Regions from separate parts of the Homo sapiens genome. Here region 1 is linked to region 2. The links are contacts of gene promoters, found by promoter capture Hi-C in blood cells and fetal thymus (Javierre and others, 2016). All regions are on one chromosome and are shown on one strand. The core of a region is centred on a gene start or on the middle of the fragment in contact, and the rest is flanking DNA. Distances in the headings are between cores, read along the strand shown. Region 1 holds the start of TRL-CAA4-1 (tRNA-Leu (anticodon CAA) 4-1). Region 2 holds the start of PGBD2 (piggyBac transposable element derived 2).

Region 1 (6,872 bases), core at 4,117-6,616, 34 kb after region 2:
TGTAGTTTCTCAACTGGTCTTATCACCTTTCTCATTCACCTTCTATTAGCCATCATAGTAACACACCCTTTCTCAAGATAATGACTGCATCCAAGGATTATTTAAATTCCAGAGAGAACTATTTCCAAGTTAATTTCTGTTATCTGATCCAATCATTCTCCCTAGTAATCATTTATTGCCCCTTAAATAGAATTCTTCTTCTCCCCCTCCCATAACCTGTTTTACCAGGATCCAAGCCCCCATTATTTCTGTAACCTCAAGATGGCCTATAAGCTTCTGTACGGCATTGGGAGGCTGGGTCTTTATTCTGAATGCACCTGTGTATACATATTAAATAAATTTGTGTGCATGCTTGTAGTCCCAGCCGCTGGTGAGGCTGAAGTGTGAGGATCACTTGAGCCTCAGAGGTCAAGGCTGCAGTGAGCCACGGCAAGCTTGGCTACAATATATACAAACCACATTTAGGCAAAGAGTTTCTAGAAAACATAGACAGATATGTCATCATAACTGGAAACTTCACTCTATGATGGCGTGTAACAGAAACTAAAACAGGCTCATTTTGGACACAACCATGAAAACCACACCAATTCCTAATCATCACAGCAGCTACAACAACATACAAAATTCCTACTAAATTTATTGTTTGCTGGGGTCAACATCTTCCAGGAACTCATGGTGGTCCTGGACACCGCTGGATACAAATATTGTTTTAATGAATTACAACAAAACTTTTGTTTGTACATGTGAATATTACATGTGATTTTTGGGGACAATTAATATTCACATGTACTCACAGACTACAGACCTATAATCTGCTACAATCTAACTCACCCCAGTATTTGGACCATTTACAATCACATACAAAATGACAGAGATTATTAGCACATTATTTACATAAAGAGAACCAAAAAACATGACTATATTAGAAAACTTTACTAGAAAACCCAAATATGAACAAAATCAAGTTGTTTTTCCAATGTGCCCAGTGGAAATTCAGAATGATCCAAACTTTTATTTCAGAGATGTAGAGACACCATACAATTTAAATCAATTGACTGGTGGGAAACACTAGGAACTAAAATAAATACGGATAAAGTCACAAAAACAGACCCAGGTATGTCAAATTAGTTTTTCTCCATGACCCAACCATCCAGTGGGTCATGGAATAAGGTTACATGGTCAGCTCAACTGCCTATTTACCAAAATATAACAAGACTAGTTTCCACTTACCTATATTTATAGCTAGAGACATCTCTTTTACAAAATGCAAGGTTAAACACTGGGACCCTGGACCTTGCATAATTGACAGGACGCTGGAATAAGATACGTTGCTTAAGAACACAACACTGGAAACCACAGTGGACCAAAAGAATAGCAAACCCTCCACCTAAAGTATTGAGAACCTGTTCTAATTAACCTATGAAGATTCGTTTACAAATCAACACCTAGGACAGTCAAAATGTTTTTGATAAAAGAACAGTTTAGGCCAGGCTCGGTGGCTCACGCCTGTAATCCTAGCACTTTGGGAGGCCAAGGCAGGCAGATCACCTGAGGTTGGGAGTTCGAGAACAGCCTGGCCAATGTGGAGAAACCCTGTCTCTACTAAAAATACAAAATTAGCCAGGCATGGTGGTGCATGCCTGTAATCCCAGCTACTCGGGAGGCTGAGGCAGGAGAATCGCTTGAACCAGGGAGGCGGAGGTTGCGGTGAGCCAAGATCACACCATTGCACTCCAGCCTGGGCAACAAGAGTAAAACTCCGTCTCAAAGAAAAAGGAAAAAAAAAAAAAAAGAACAGTTTAAAGTCACACATATTCAAGCAGAATGTGTACAGTTCTAGGAACAAGGATGTGACAAACAGCCCATTTTACCAAACTTACCACCACTAGATAAATATTATTTAAGAAAATTTCTATAAATATTTGTAGCAATTTGAATTATTTCAAACTAGTCATTTCAGCAGTACAAGAAGCAGAAATTCAGGAAGTTAAAACAGGCCTATTTGTTTTAAACATTGTGGAAAACACAAACGTGCATGGACCTGGTTCCGTCTGATCGTGTAGAGTGTATGATAACACAGCCTTGGCCTGGAGATCTGAAAAAGATACCCAGAGAGAAATAAAACTTTGGAAAACCATAACAAATTAGGTGCATAGGCTCATAATATTACAAAATGTTAAGAAGATAGAACTTAAATGTGGTTTAGGAGTTTTTAATTATTAAAATATTTTTCACAGGCTTCCCAAATTTAAAAAATGGGCAATAAAAAACTTAGAATAAAAACTAAAAGCAGCTGTAAAAGACATTTTAAGGCCAATTGGGGAAAATTCGAATGTAGACTAGCATATGACAGCATGTTAATGTCAATTTTCTTAGGTGTGACATGGAGTAATGGCATATCTGTGACTTTCAAGTTGGGGGGACAGTTTTACAGATCTCAACTTTCTTTCTTTTTTTCTTTTCTTTTTTTTTTTTTTTTTTTTGTTTTGTTTTTTTGAGACGGAGTCTCGCTCTGTCGCCCAGGCTGGAGTGCAGTGGTGCGATCTCGGCTCACTGCAACCTCCGCCTCCCAGGTTCACGCCATTCTCCTGCCTCAGCCTCCTGAGTAGCTGGGACTACAGGCACCTGCCACCACGCTCAGCTAATTTTTGTATTTTTAGTAGAGACGGGGTTTCACCCTGTCAGCCGGGATGGTCTCGATCTCCTGACCTCGTGATCCGCCCACCTCAGCCTCCCAAAGTGCTGGGATTACAGGCGTCAGCCACCGCGCCAGGCCATACAGATCTCAACTTTCAAGTGGAATAGGGAAGGTATACCTATCTCTATCTATTTGTCTATCTATCTATCTATCTATCTATCTATCTATCTATCTATCTATCTATCTATCTCTATCTACCTATCTATCTACCTTGGAAGAGAGAGAGAGAGAGAGAATGTGACAAAATATTAACCAGTGTTGATTGCAGGTAAAGAGAAACCAGGGTTGGTTGTGGCATTATTTCAATTATCTCTACTTATTTAAAAAATGAAAAGATAGATGCTGGGGTGAGGGAGAAGTACCTGATCTCTTTCCATAGCGACAATTACTCAAGCGTCGTTAAGGAGCTAGGACCGGCCCTGACCCGCCCCTCTAGGCAACAGGTGCCATTCTAATGGCCTTTGGACACCTAGGGAGACTTTTTGAAATCTGTGACATAATTTTAAGACCAGCCATTTTTGGCATACCCAGAGCTATCTTTTTGGATCATTTTGTGCTGCTGGCATTTTTTCTCCGTTCTTAAGATATCATGAGTAAAGACACTGACTACATATACGGCGCGCATAAACTGCAGTAGAGTCCATTTCAGGTAACTACTCTGCAAAATGAGGACACCAGGTGCGTTTTGCCCTTTGTTTAGAAGTCAAGTCATAGCTGACTCTGGGAACATCACCTATGGTTAGCCCTGCGGCAACAGTTTTTAAAACGGCTTACTTTCCTGACCGGGAATCGAACCCGGGCCGCGGCGGTGAGAGCGCCGAATCCTAACCACTAGACCACCAGGGAAGACATGATGCGTCATTTAGCAATATGCTATACTAAATAAATATCCTGTGACGTATCTCCTATAGAAACATGATTGGATGCGGTTTTCTCGCAACATTTGGGAATATGCAGACTGCTTCCCTCCCCTTGGTAGGTAGCCCCCTTGCTGCGGCAGACAGGGAAAACCGGGCAGCAAAGATGAGTAGTCTAGTTGTAACCTTCTTCCTGGAGAAGACAATAAAATACCAACGGACTCCGGGAAAATTCTGGGGTTTCTTCCGGGGAATAAAATGCTAATAAAACGAATGTGTCAGAAGTGGGATTCGAACCCACGCCTCCATCCGGAGACCAGAAAGCCCGCAGGCAAGGTGCTTACCTTGAGTCTGGCGCCTTAGACCACTCGGCCATCCTGACACTCGGAAGCAGAGCGCTTCTCACTTAGCCTCATACTTGTGTCCGCTGGTGCCAGCCTGCCGCGTCACACCCGAGTTGCGGCCGTGGGAACCCTACTGACTGGTCGCGACGTTTCAGCGCTTCCCGTTCCCGGCGGAGCTCTGGAGAAAGCCGCGACTGCAATGCAGCCAGGAGTGGCCGATAGCGCTCTCCCAGGCCGGGAATCGAAGCTAACGACCAGGGGTTAGTGACCGTGTGCCAGCGCCTGGCCCCGCAAACGCAGGACAATGCCTGAGAAAGGCAAAGCTCGAGCTACCGCCTCACCTTCCGGCCCAAGCTGGGGAAACTCTGGCAAGCAGTTACTACTCGGAAAGTAGTTGGAAAAACGCTTGCCACTAAGTGACGAATGGATGCTTTTGTTTTTCTTCATTATCATCATTATTATAGCGGCTTTCTGCTTTATTGTGCCTGCGCGTACCCTCCCCTCAAGGTCCACCGCGCTTCCTCCACGAAACCACACAGATACGGTTGGCGATAACGGCCGGATCGGGAGGTCCTAGGTCAGAGGGGCCTGATGCGGGCCTCGCCTGAGGTGAGGGAAGTCAGGCTGCGTTTACACAGCAGTTAACGAGTGCCTTAGCGTCCAATGGGAAGGCCCGGGACTCGCAGTGCAGAGCAGCTCTGGCAGTGTCCTCCCGGTGGGCTGTGAGGTTACCTGTGAGCCCAGATACCACTCGTCCAGGCATTCATTCGTTGAATCTTAACATCGAGTGTCCACTGGGAACACAACGGTAAATAGACAAAGCCCCAACTTGGTGAGCTGATTTGCTAGTGAAGGAGATGACCAGCACAATCACATGTACAGAGTGTGAGGAAAAACCAAAAGCAATGAAGTGGTGGAGAAGTTCTATTTTTAGACTGTGCAGTTAAGTAAGGCCTCACTAAAGTGACTTTTGCTAAAATATTTTTCAAAAACTAAAATATATGTCATGCAGCCGGGCGCGGTGGCTCATGCCTGTAATCCCGCCACCACGTTGGGAGGTGGGCGGATCACCTGAGGTCGGGAGTTCGAGACCAGCCTGACCAACATGGAGAAACCCCGTCTCTACTAAAAATACAAAATTAGCCGGGCATGGTGGCACATGCCTGTAATCCCAGCTACTCGGGAGCCTGAGGCAGGAGAATCGCTTGAACCTGGGAGGCGGAGGTTGTGGTGAGCCGAGATCGCGCCGTTGCACTCCAGCCTGGGCAACAAGAGTGAAACTCTGTCTCAAAACAATAAAATAAAATAAAATAAAATAAGAATGTCATACAAATATAAAATCCACGTGTCAAGATTTTATTCAATTAACTAATGATGAAAGATAATAACTTTAAAGAGAAAATTATTCTGATACTTGTTCAAACAGCAAGGGAGAATTTTATTCAAACTATTACAATAGGGGTGAGAGACTGGGCGCAACTCCAAATCAACAAAGACAACTAGAAATTTAAAGCCAAGGAGCAGAGTGTGGGGGGTGGGGGGGATCAGTGGATGGAAAATTACTAAGAAAATGGGCCAAGTGGGGCAGCTCAGGCCTGTAATCCCAGTGCTTTGGGAGGCCTAGTCAGGAGGATCGCTTCTGCCCAGGAGTTTGAGGCTTCAGTGAGCTATGATGAAGCTCGCCTTTCAAAGAAAGAAAATTACTAATAGGAGACATTAAGGGTAAGGGAGAAGGAAAGAAGGAAGGAAGGGAGGCAGGAAAAATTACTAATAGGAGTAGGGGTTACATACTAAACAGGCCTTAAAAGATTCTACTTACTGGAGGCCAAAGACTTGGACACCAAAGGTGAGAAATTCAAAGGTGAGGAATGAGTAACTTGATCAATATCAAGGCTGGGGGAATTCACACTAAACTGACTTAGCAGGACTGTTTGCTAAGACTAGGCTTTACAGGCCAAAGACAGGATAGGGGCCAAGGTAGAGGCCTAATCAAAAACAGGAATCAGAGGCGCCTGACTGAAGTTTGGTCAAGGAAGGTCTTTGTCAATGACCTATACAATGTTACCAATGTTACAACTAATTAAAAGGAGAATTTCGAGAGACTTTTAAAATAATAATTCAGCCAAATGAAGGCTGAAAAGAGGTTGCTAACAGATTAAAGTTGGGTTAATATCCTGAGTAATAAACTGTGATAATGGAAGTTGGGATTTCTACTCCGGGGTTATCTTTTCTTTGCCGGAGATAAATCGGTTGTGTCTCTTGACAAATTTTACTTATATTGCTATCCTTGGTCTTGCTCTCAGACAGAAACCATTTTCATTACTATTAGTTTTCTAAAAGTTAACCTTGGCCGGGCGCTGTGGCTCACGCCTGTAATCCCAGCACTTTGGGAGGCCGAGGCGGCCAGATCACGAGGTCAGGAGATGGAGACCATCCTGGCTAACACGGTGAAACCCCGTCTCTACTGAAAATACAAAAAAATTAGCCGGGCATGGTGGCGGGCACTTGTAGTCCCAGCTACTCAGGAGGCTGAGCCAGGAGAATGGCGTGAACCCGGGAGGCAGAGTTTGCAGTGAGACAAGACCACACCACTGCACTCCAGCCTGGGTGACAGAGCGAGACTCTGTCTCAAAAAAAAAAAAAAAAAAAAAAAAGTTAACCTCTACCTCCCTACCAAGCTGCAAAATAGCCAAGTCAATAAAAATTAATAAAGGTGCACATGCCAATGGAAACAGATAATCCCACAAAGGTCTGCTAGACAATGCCAAGTTCCATGGGAAGGACACCTAGTAATCTCTTTTGTCTATTTCCAGGTTTTTAATATTTTTTCCTTTTTAAAATATTTTATCTTTAATTGACAAATAATAATTATATATCTTTATGGAGTACCATGTGATGTTTCAATTCATGTACACATTGTGAAATGATCAAATAAGGCTAATTAACATATCCATCACCTCCCATGCTTTTATG
Region 2 (6,854 bases), core at 3,211-5,710:
TTCTGCTCTGACCTTCTTGGCACTAAGGCAGGCTTGCTGCAGGCAGATGCCAGGTGTGTGAGGTGCAGAAGAAAGACCTCAGTCCCTCAATCTCTCCCCACCCCCTTTCACAAGTCTGTAGCCCAGGAAAAATGTGTAATATGGAGCCACCAGCGATGAGCTGTGCGATTTTGGAAAGTCACTTACCAAAGAGACTTCCTGGTGCCCTTGTCTTTCACCTGTAAAATGGGATCATCATGGTACCTACCCTCACTGCACTGTGAAAACAGTAAGAGTCAATGTGTGTAAAGCAGACACAACAGGCCTGGATTCCCAAGTGTTAACTATAATTTCAGGTTCAAAACCCCTCACCTGCAATTCCAAAAGCCAAATATGGTTTAAAAACTGAACTTTCTTTCAAAACTTTGCAACAAACTCTTTGGCAGCAAAACCTGGACTGACCTGAGGCTCTTCATAATGTCTAATTCTGTTACTATAAATATCCATACATTTTGCTGCAGAAATTATGTTTGATTAAGGATGCATCAGTATGACTGATAAAACTCAAACAGTCTGACTTCTTCCCCAGGTCCAGCCAGGTTTGGGTCAAGAAGCCTGACTTGTGTTACCATGTCACAGTTGCTTCACCTCTCAGCAGTTTACCACCTTTTCCTCCACTGTGCCTTAGGCTGGCCCCATCCACTTGCTAACATACAGACTGACAGCCTCCAGCCATTAGGGCATGAGCCCATCTTCACAGCCTACCAAGAACTTGCCAACCAAGCTCTGAAATAAAATCAAAGCCATTCACAGCCTGGTCCCCAGCCTCATCCCGACCCAGTTCTGCCTCTAGGTTCAGACCACTCCTGAGGGCTGGTCCAGTTTCTTGTATCCTGTCTCCCTCAGGTTCCCTACTCTGGCCTGACTGCTTTGCTTTCTTCTTGTGTGCTGTGCCTTTTGCCTGGGGTGCCATTCCCTGCCTATGGGATCCCCTGCAATGTCTTTCTCATCCATCAAGCTTCCAATCAAGTCTTCCTCTTACCACAGCTTTCACCACAATAGACTGAAATTAATAATCCATCTTCAGGTCGACCCCACCTCTGTATCCCCAAAAGGCAACATGGCATCTGGCATGCAGCAGGCCCTCAATAAATACTCGCTGAACCAAATTAATCATGCCACAGAGCCAAATGGCCACACTCCAGGGCACCCCGTCCATCTCAACCTGCTGCAGACTTTCATTTTCATCTTTACTATTTGGCTTTGAGACAACTATTTAGAAAAGAACCAGAAGCTCTTGATATATGCTTGACCCTAACTAAAATATACTCCTAAAAGAGTCTCTGAAACCACGCATAGGAAATACCTGTCAGTGAAGAATCTAATACAGTGGACTCAACCAGGTCAGAGGGGGATACATACGCAAGAAGCTCAGCAAAAACCCATTCTACCTTTCAGGAGTCTGTAGACTGTGCTCCCCAGGCCCTCCATCCCCTCACATGTGGCTCCTCCATCTTTCTTGCCCTGCCTGAGACAACCAACAGAGGAAGAGGACATGGGTAACCAGTGCTCCTACATACCAAGCAAACTCACAAAGGGAATAATGTCTAGATAGAGGCTGTTAGGCAGCCACACTATCACTTTTTCATTCGTTTGGCAAACATCTGAAGTATCTACTGGGTGCCAGGTATATATGCATAAAATTGTAACTATGACAGGGCTAAGAAGGAAAGGAGGTGTTTATCAAAACCCGTAAAACGGAAACTGATCTAGTCAGGGAGGTCAGAGAATATCTCCCTGAGGAAAAGACAAAATGATGGAGAGCTGCAGAAAGAGTAACAATTCCCTCAGCAGGCAGGGAATAGCACCCCAGGCAAAAGGCACAGCACAGGAGAAGCAAAGCAGTGACGCCAGAGTAAGGAATCTGCGGGACAGGGTACAAGAGGCTGTACCAGCCCTGCAGAGACTTGAAGACCCTGTTAAGGAGGCCTGTCTTTATAAGAGCTATGGGAAGTTTAAAAAAAAAAAAAATACAGGAAGAGCATAACAGAAGGAAGGGTGTATGTTAACAAGCTTATTCTGGGTGCAGTATGGACAACTGAGTATGCAGGCCCCAACATAGATGCAGGGAGATGGACAAAAAGGCTACGGCAAAAGGGTGGGGCCTATGGAGAGAAATGGACACACTTAAGGAGGACTTAAAATGTAAAACCATCAAGCCTGGATAATTGGTTGAGGGGGTAGGGCAGGGGAGAAAGCTGATCGGGGAAGCCTCCTAGATTTCAGGCACCCTATGGCTGGTGCACAGAGGTGCCATTCACTAAGCCTAGCAGCACTGGGAGGAAGAGCAGAGGGTGGTCACGAGCTGCCCAGAGGTCCAACTGGGCATTCTCAACTGAACTGGCCCAGGCACTCAACAAAGAAAAAGCAACTTGGTGTGAGACCTGGAGCTCCCCAGGCCACTCTAAAGGGTCCTAGGGGATTGGGAGGTGGGAGAGCTGCTGTTTAAAATGTAAATTTCTCCAAGGAAAGACAGGACAACTAAATGCTGTCTTGGAACCTAAATTACAAAATGGAAATAGGTGAGAGTAAAGAAATTCGAATAAGGCCTGTAGGTGTTAATATCCTGGTTTTGTTGACTGTTTTGTAAAATAAGATGTTAACCCCTAGGAAATCCAGACGAACCGTACATGGGAATTTTTGCTTGTTTCACAACACTCTGAAACTCTGAAATTAATTCAAGATAAAAATTATTCAAAAGACATTTTATAGATGTAAATGCCCCAAAGCTGAGCCAGGTGCCTAACTGTAGGGAAAAGAAAGAGAAGTCAGACTGCTACTGTGTCTATGTAGAAAGGGAAGACATAAGAAATTCCATTTTGACCTGTACCTTGAACAATTGCTTTGCCCTGAGATGCTCTTAATCTGTAACTTTGCCCCAACCTCTTTGCTCCAACCTTGACCTCACAAAAACATGTGTTGTATGGAATCAAGGTTTAAGGGGTCTAGGGCTGTGCAGGACATGTCTTGTTAACAAAATGTTTACAAGCAGTATGCTTGGTAAAAGTCATCACCATTCTCTAGTCTCAATAAACAAGGGGCGCAATGCACCATGAAAAGCCACAGGGACCTCTGCCCTGGAAAGCCGGGTATTGTCCAAGGTTTCTCCCCATGTGATAGTCTGAAATACAGCCTCGTGGGAAGAGAAAGACCTTACCGTCCCCCAGCCCGACACCCGTCTGTGCTGAGGTGGATTAGTAAAAGAGGAAAGCCTCTTGCAGTTGAGATAGATGAAGGCCACTGTGTCCTGCCTGCCCCTGGGAACTGAATGTCTCCGTACAAAACCTGATTGTACATTTGTTCAATTCTGAGATAGGAGAAAAACTGCCCTATGGCAGGAGGCAAGACATGTTGGCAGCAATGCTGCCCTGTTATTCTTTATTCCACTGAAATGTTTGGGCAGAGAGAAACATAAATGTGGCCTACGTGCACATCCAGGCATAGTACCTCCACTTGAACTTATGACATAAATTCTTTTGCTCACATGTTTCTTTGCTGACCTCCTTATCACCCTGCTCTCCTACCGCATTCCTCTTGCTGAGATAATGAAAACAATAATCAATAAAAACTGAGGGAACTCAGAGACCGGTGCTGGTGCAAGTCCTTGGTATGCTGAGTGCCGGTCCCCTGGGCCCACTGTGGTTTCTCTATACTTTGTCTCTGTGTCTTATTTCTTTTCTCAGTCTCTCCTCCCACCTGACAAGATATCCCACAGGTGTGGAAGGGCAGGCCACCCCTTCACCCAACAGCTCAGAATGGCTTTTGTGGGATACGGAAGAACCCTCCCTTCTCTTCACCTCACTAGCAAAAGAGAAAGAAGGGCAAACAAAGACCCTCAGAAACCTCAGCAGCTTCCCAGGCAGACGCAGTTAAAAACGACCCGCCCCCAGCGCGCCCCGGCACAGAGCCACCCCGCCCCAGGATGTGACGTGGCATTCGCAGTCCCGCCGCCAGCCTCAGGCCGCCCGCCTCCTTCGTCCCGCCCACCCCGCCCGAGCCTGCCCTGGTCCCTCCCACCCCGCCCTGAATCCATCCCTCTTTAGCCCGACCCCGCCCTGGTCCCCACCCACCCCGCTCCGCCTCCCGCTCAGCCGGCCCGGCCTCCGGCCTCGCACCCCAACCCGCAGAAGGAGCGCCCCCTTGCGGCCCTCGGAATCCCATTGTTCCTGTCCTGGTCCCGCCAGCCCACCGTCGGCGCGCAGTGGTGAGGACGAACTCCTCGGATGCCGCCGTTGAGAAAACGCAACATCAACGCCAACCACTCCTGTACTCAAGCGAAGCCCTGCCTGCAGCGCGAGCACACTGAGGCCTACCTGCCCTACCCCAGACGGAGACTCGCGAGCCCGAACCGGACCATGAGCCGCGCCGAATCGGAGCGCTGCGCCTGCGTTGGCGTCGGGCGTCGCGGCCGCGCAACGTCCGGCACCAGAGGGCTCGCTGCACCTCGGCCGGCCTTCCATGCCACGCCCCCGGGCCAGGCCACGCCCCGGCCCGAGCGACCATCGAGACTCCAGGACCTCCGCGGCGCCTAGAGGGATCCCGAAAACGCCTGCGAGGCCAGAACGGCCGAAATAACCCACCCCAGCGGGCCAGCTCTTCCCGCCACTCTCCCTTACCCTCCCACCCCTGTCCTACTTTGGAAACCTTCCTCGCTCCTTCCTAATCAGGAGAGCATGGGGACTTTCTAGGGTAGTGGTTCTCAAATGTGCCCCCAATCTAACAGCAGCTTCACCTGGGAAATCGATGGAAATGCAAATCTTGGGACCCCACTACAGGCCTTCTGAGTAAGAAACTCTGAGGGTGTGCCCAATAATCGGCCTTACCAACCCTGAAGGTAATTGTGGTACAAACTAGGGCTTGAGAACCACTGCTGTATGGCAGGGTTTCTCAACCTCCACTCTTGACATTTTGGGCCTGGATAATTCTTTGTTGAGAGGGAAGGAGGCTGTCCTGTGCATTATAGGAGGCAGGGTCACGGATAAAATACAGTTAAATTTGAGTTTCAGGTAACAGTGTTGTTCATCTAAGATTCACATTTAACTGGAAGTCCCTGTATTTCATCTGGCTACCTTGCCTACCTATATTTTTACTTGGTAAAAATAGAACCTTAATTGTAGGATATTGAGCATCCCTAGCAACTAAATGCCAGTAGCACACCACACTCTCTCCACTCTAGTTATGACAAATAAAAGTATCTCCCCCTACTTCTTGAGAATCACGGCTCTATAAGGACTTTGTCCAGCTGAAACCCAGTAGCCCATTAGGTATATAGGACAGTGTACTCCGCAGAAAACTGCCTTGCCCTGAAAGGCTTTGAACACAGAAATCCCTGGGACCAAACCGTGTTAACATTCAAAAAGAGGGCCACTTAGTGAAGAGTTTGTATTTGCTTCTCCACACTGACACTTCACAAAGGTTTTTTGGTCACTGTAAAGTGTGTTCCAAAACCCCTGGATCAGAAGAAAAAAATCATGCTCATTTGTGAGATTCTGAAGTGAAGGGCACGTATTAGTTTGTCATTCATTCCACATATGAGCAAATTGAGAAAACAGGCAATAAGCCATGGGAAAATGGGAGTGCTACTCTAGGTAAGGTAGGGTGGTGTTTCTAACTTGCTTTGTTCCCCAGATCCTGTGTCTCATTCATTCATTCAAGTGTTAAATGAGTGTCTTCTCTGTGACAATCACTCCTCTGAGCAGTGATGTTAGAACAGTGAAAAAGAAAAGGCACAAGAGAAAAACCCTCTTGTCATTTCAGTGGGAGAACCAGACAGTAAACAAAATATATGGCATGTCAAAGTGGAAAGTGCTAGGAAGAAAATAAAGGAAGCAAAGGGGACCAATAAGACTGTTGTGAATTCAGTTTTAAATAATTTGGTCAGGGAAGGTTGGTAAGTGAGAAGGTTGTATTTGAGGGAAAAGCCAAAGAATATGAAGAGCAAATTCCCCATGCAGAATTCAAGGGGGAAAATATTTGAAGCAGAGAGAATGGCATGTGCAAATGCTCTGAGGCGAAGCAAGCCTAGCACATTTGAGAATGGCTGGAGACAAAAGAAAGTCAAAGAAATGAGGTCAAAGAGGGGGTGAGTTCAACAAGGAGTAATAAGGTGCTTGCTGGCTGTTTCTTCCATACCTTTATGATCCAGAGAGAATTCTCACTGCAATTTGGATACTTGCATATGTAATTTAAAGTTAATAAAAAGATCGGGACCAAGTGTAAGTGTTTATGGAGCTGCAAAGAGTCCATCTAGACATTTTCAGTGCATTGCTTTGAATAAAGCTACGTTTAAAAACAAAGTCAAATCTTTGAAAACAATGTCAAATTTGGGGTAGAATGGCAGAAGAACTGCATGATAGGAATTGGGAAAAAAAAAAAAATTTAGCCCGTTAAGCTAGAATCCTTTGAGGAAAATACATATTTTGAAGTTCTTTAATTGAGAAATAGGCTAAATAAGCTTTAAGGAAAAAATTGGGGAAAATATTTAAATTATGTGTATTATGAGTAAATTTCATAAAAGCCTTGCAGCCTAGTTTGTTTATAGATACTATCTTGCTTTAGGGAGTTAACAAATAAAAAAAAAACATAAAAAGAAGAAAATGGACTTAGGGAATTAAACTTATATATTTATTAATTTATTTCATTTAGTTTATTTCACCTGTACATGTCTTTGTGTGTATGTATGGGGTGAGACTTTACATATAAAAATTCTCATGTCGCATTGACTAAATAACACCTTATGGTTGATGATGTTAGTACATAGCAGCAATTAAAGCTCAGCTACAAGTTGCTGACTACATTAAAGTTTTTGACAGCCA

Evidence for each region. The method cuts DNA at HindIII sites, captures the fragments that hold promoters and counts their contacts. A CHiCAGO score of 5 or more calls a contact.
Region 1: a fragment that was not itself captured here is called in contact with the fragment with the promoter of PGBD2 in region 2 in 3 of 17 cell types (naive CD8 T cells, total CD8 T cells and non-activated CD4 T cells); the score reaches 7.4 in naive CD8 T cells.

Annotation. Positions count from the first base shown.
Region 1 is chr1:248,870,920-248,877,791 of GRCh38, reverse strand. TRL-CAA4-1 (tRNA-Leu (anticodon CAA) 4-1) reads right to left here and starts at 3,937; the gene lies at 3,832-3,937. TRE-CTC2-1 (tRNA-Glu (anticodon CTC) 2-1) reads right to left here and starts at 3,544; the gene lies at 3,473-3,544. It also overlaps a transcript of PGBD2 not described here. RefSeq lists silencers at 3,447-3,596, 3,867-3,916 and enhancers at 4,167-4,276, 3,871-4,712, 4,713-5,554. The HindIII fragment of the contact is 9,859 bases long and covers 437-6,872 here.
Region 2 is chr1:248,903,841-248,910,694 of GRCh38, reverse strand. PGBD2 (piggyBac transposable element derived 2) reads right to left here and starts at 4,460. Exons shown (of 3, transcript NM_170725.3): 1 at 4,353-4,460. RefSeq lists silencers at 4,015-4,104, 4,515-4,574 and enhancers at 4,195-4,384, 3,909-4,830. The HindIII fragment of the contact is 4,441 bases long and covers 2,055-6,495 here.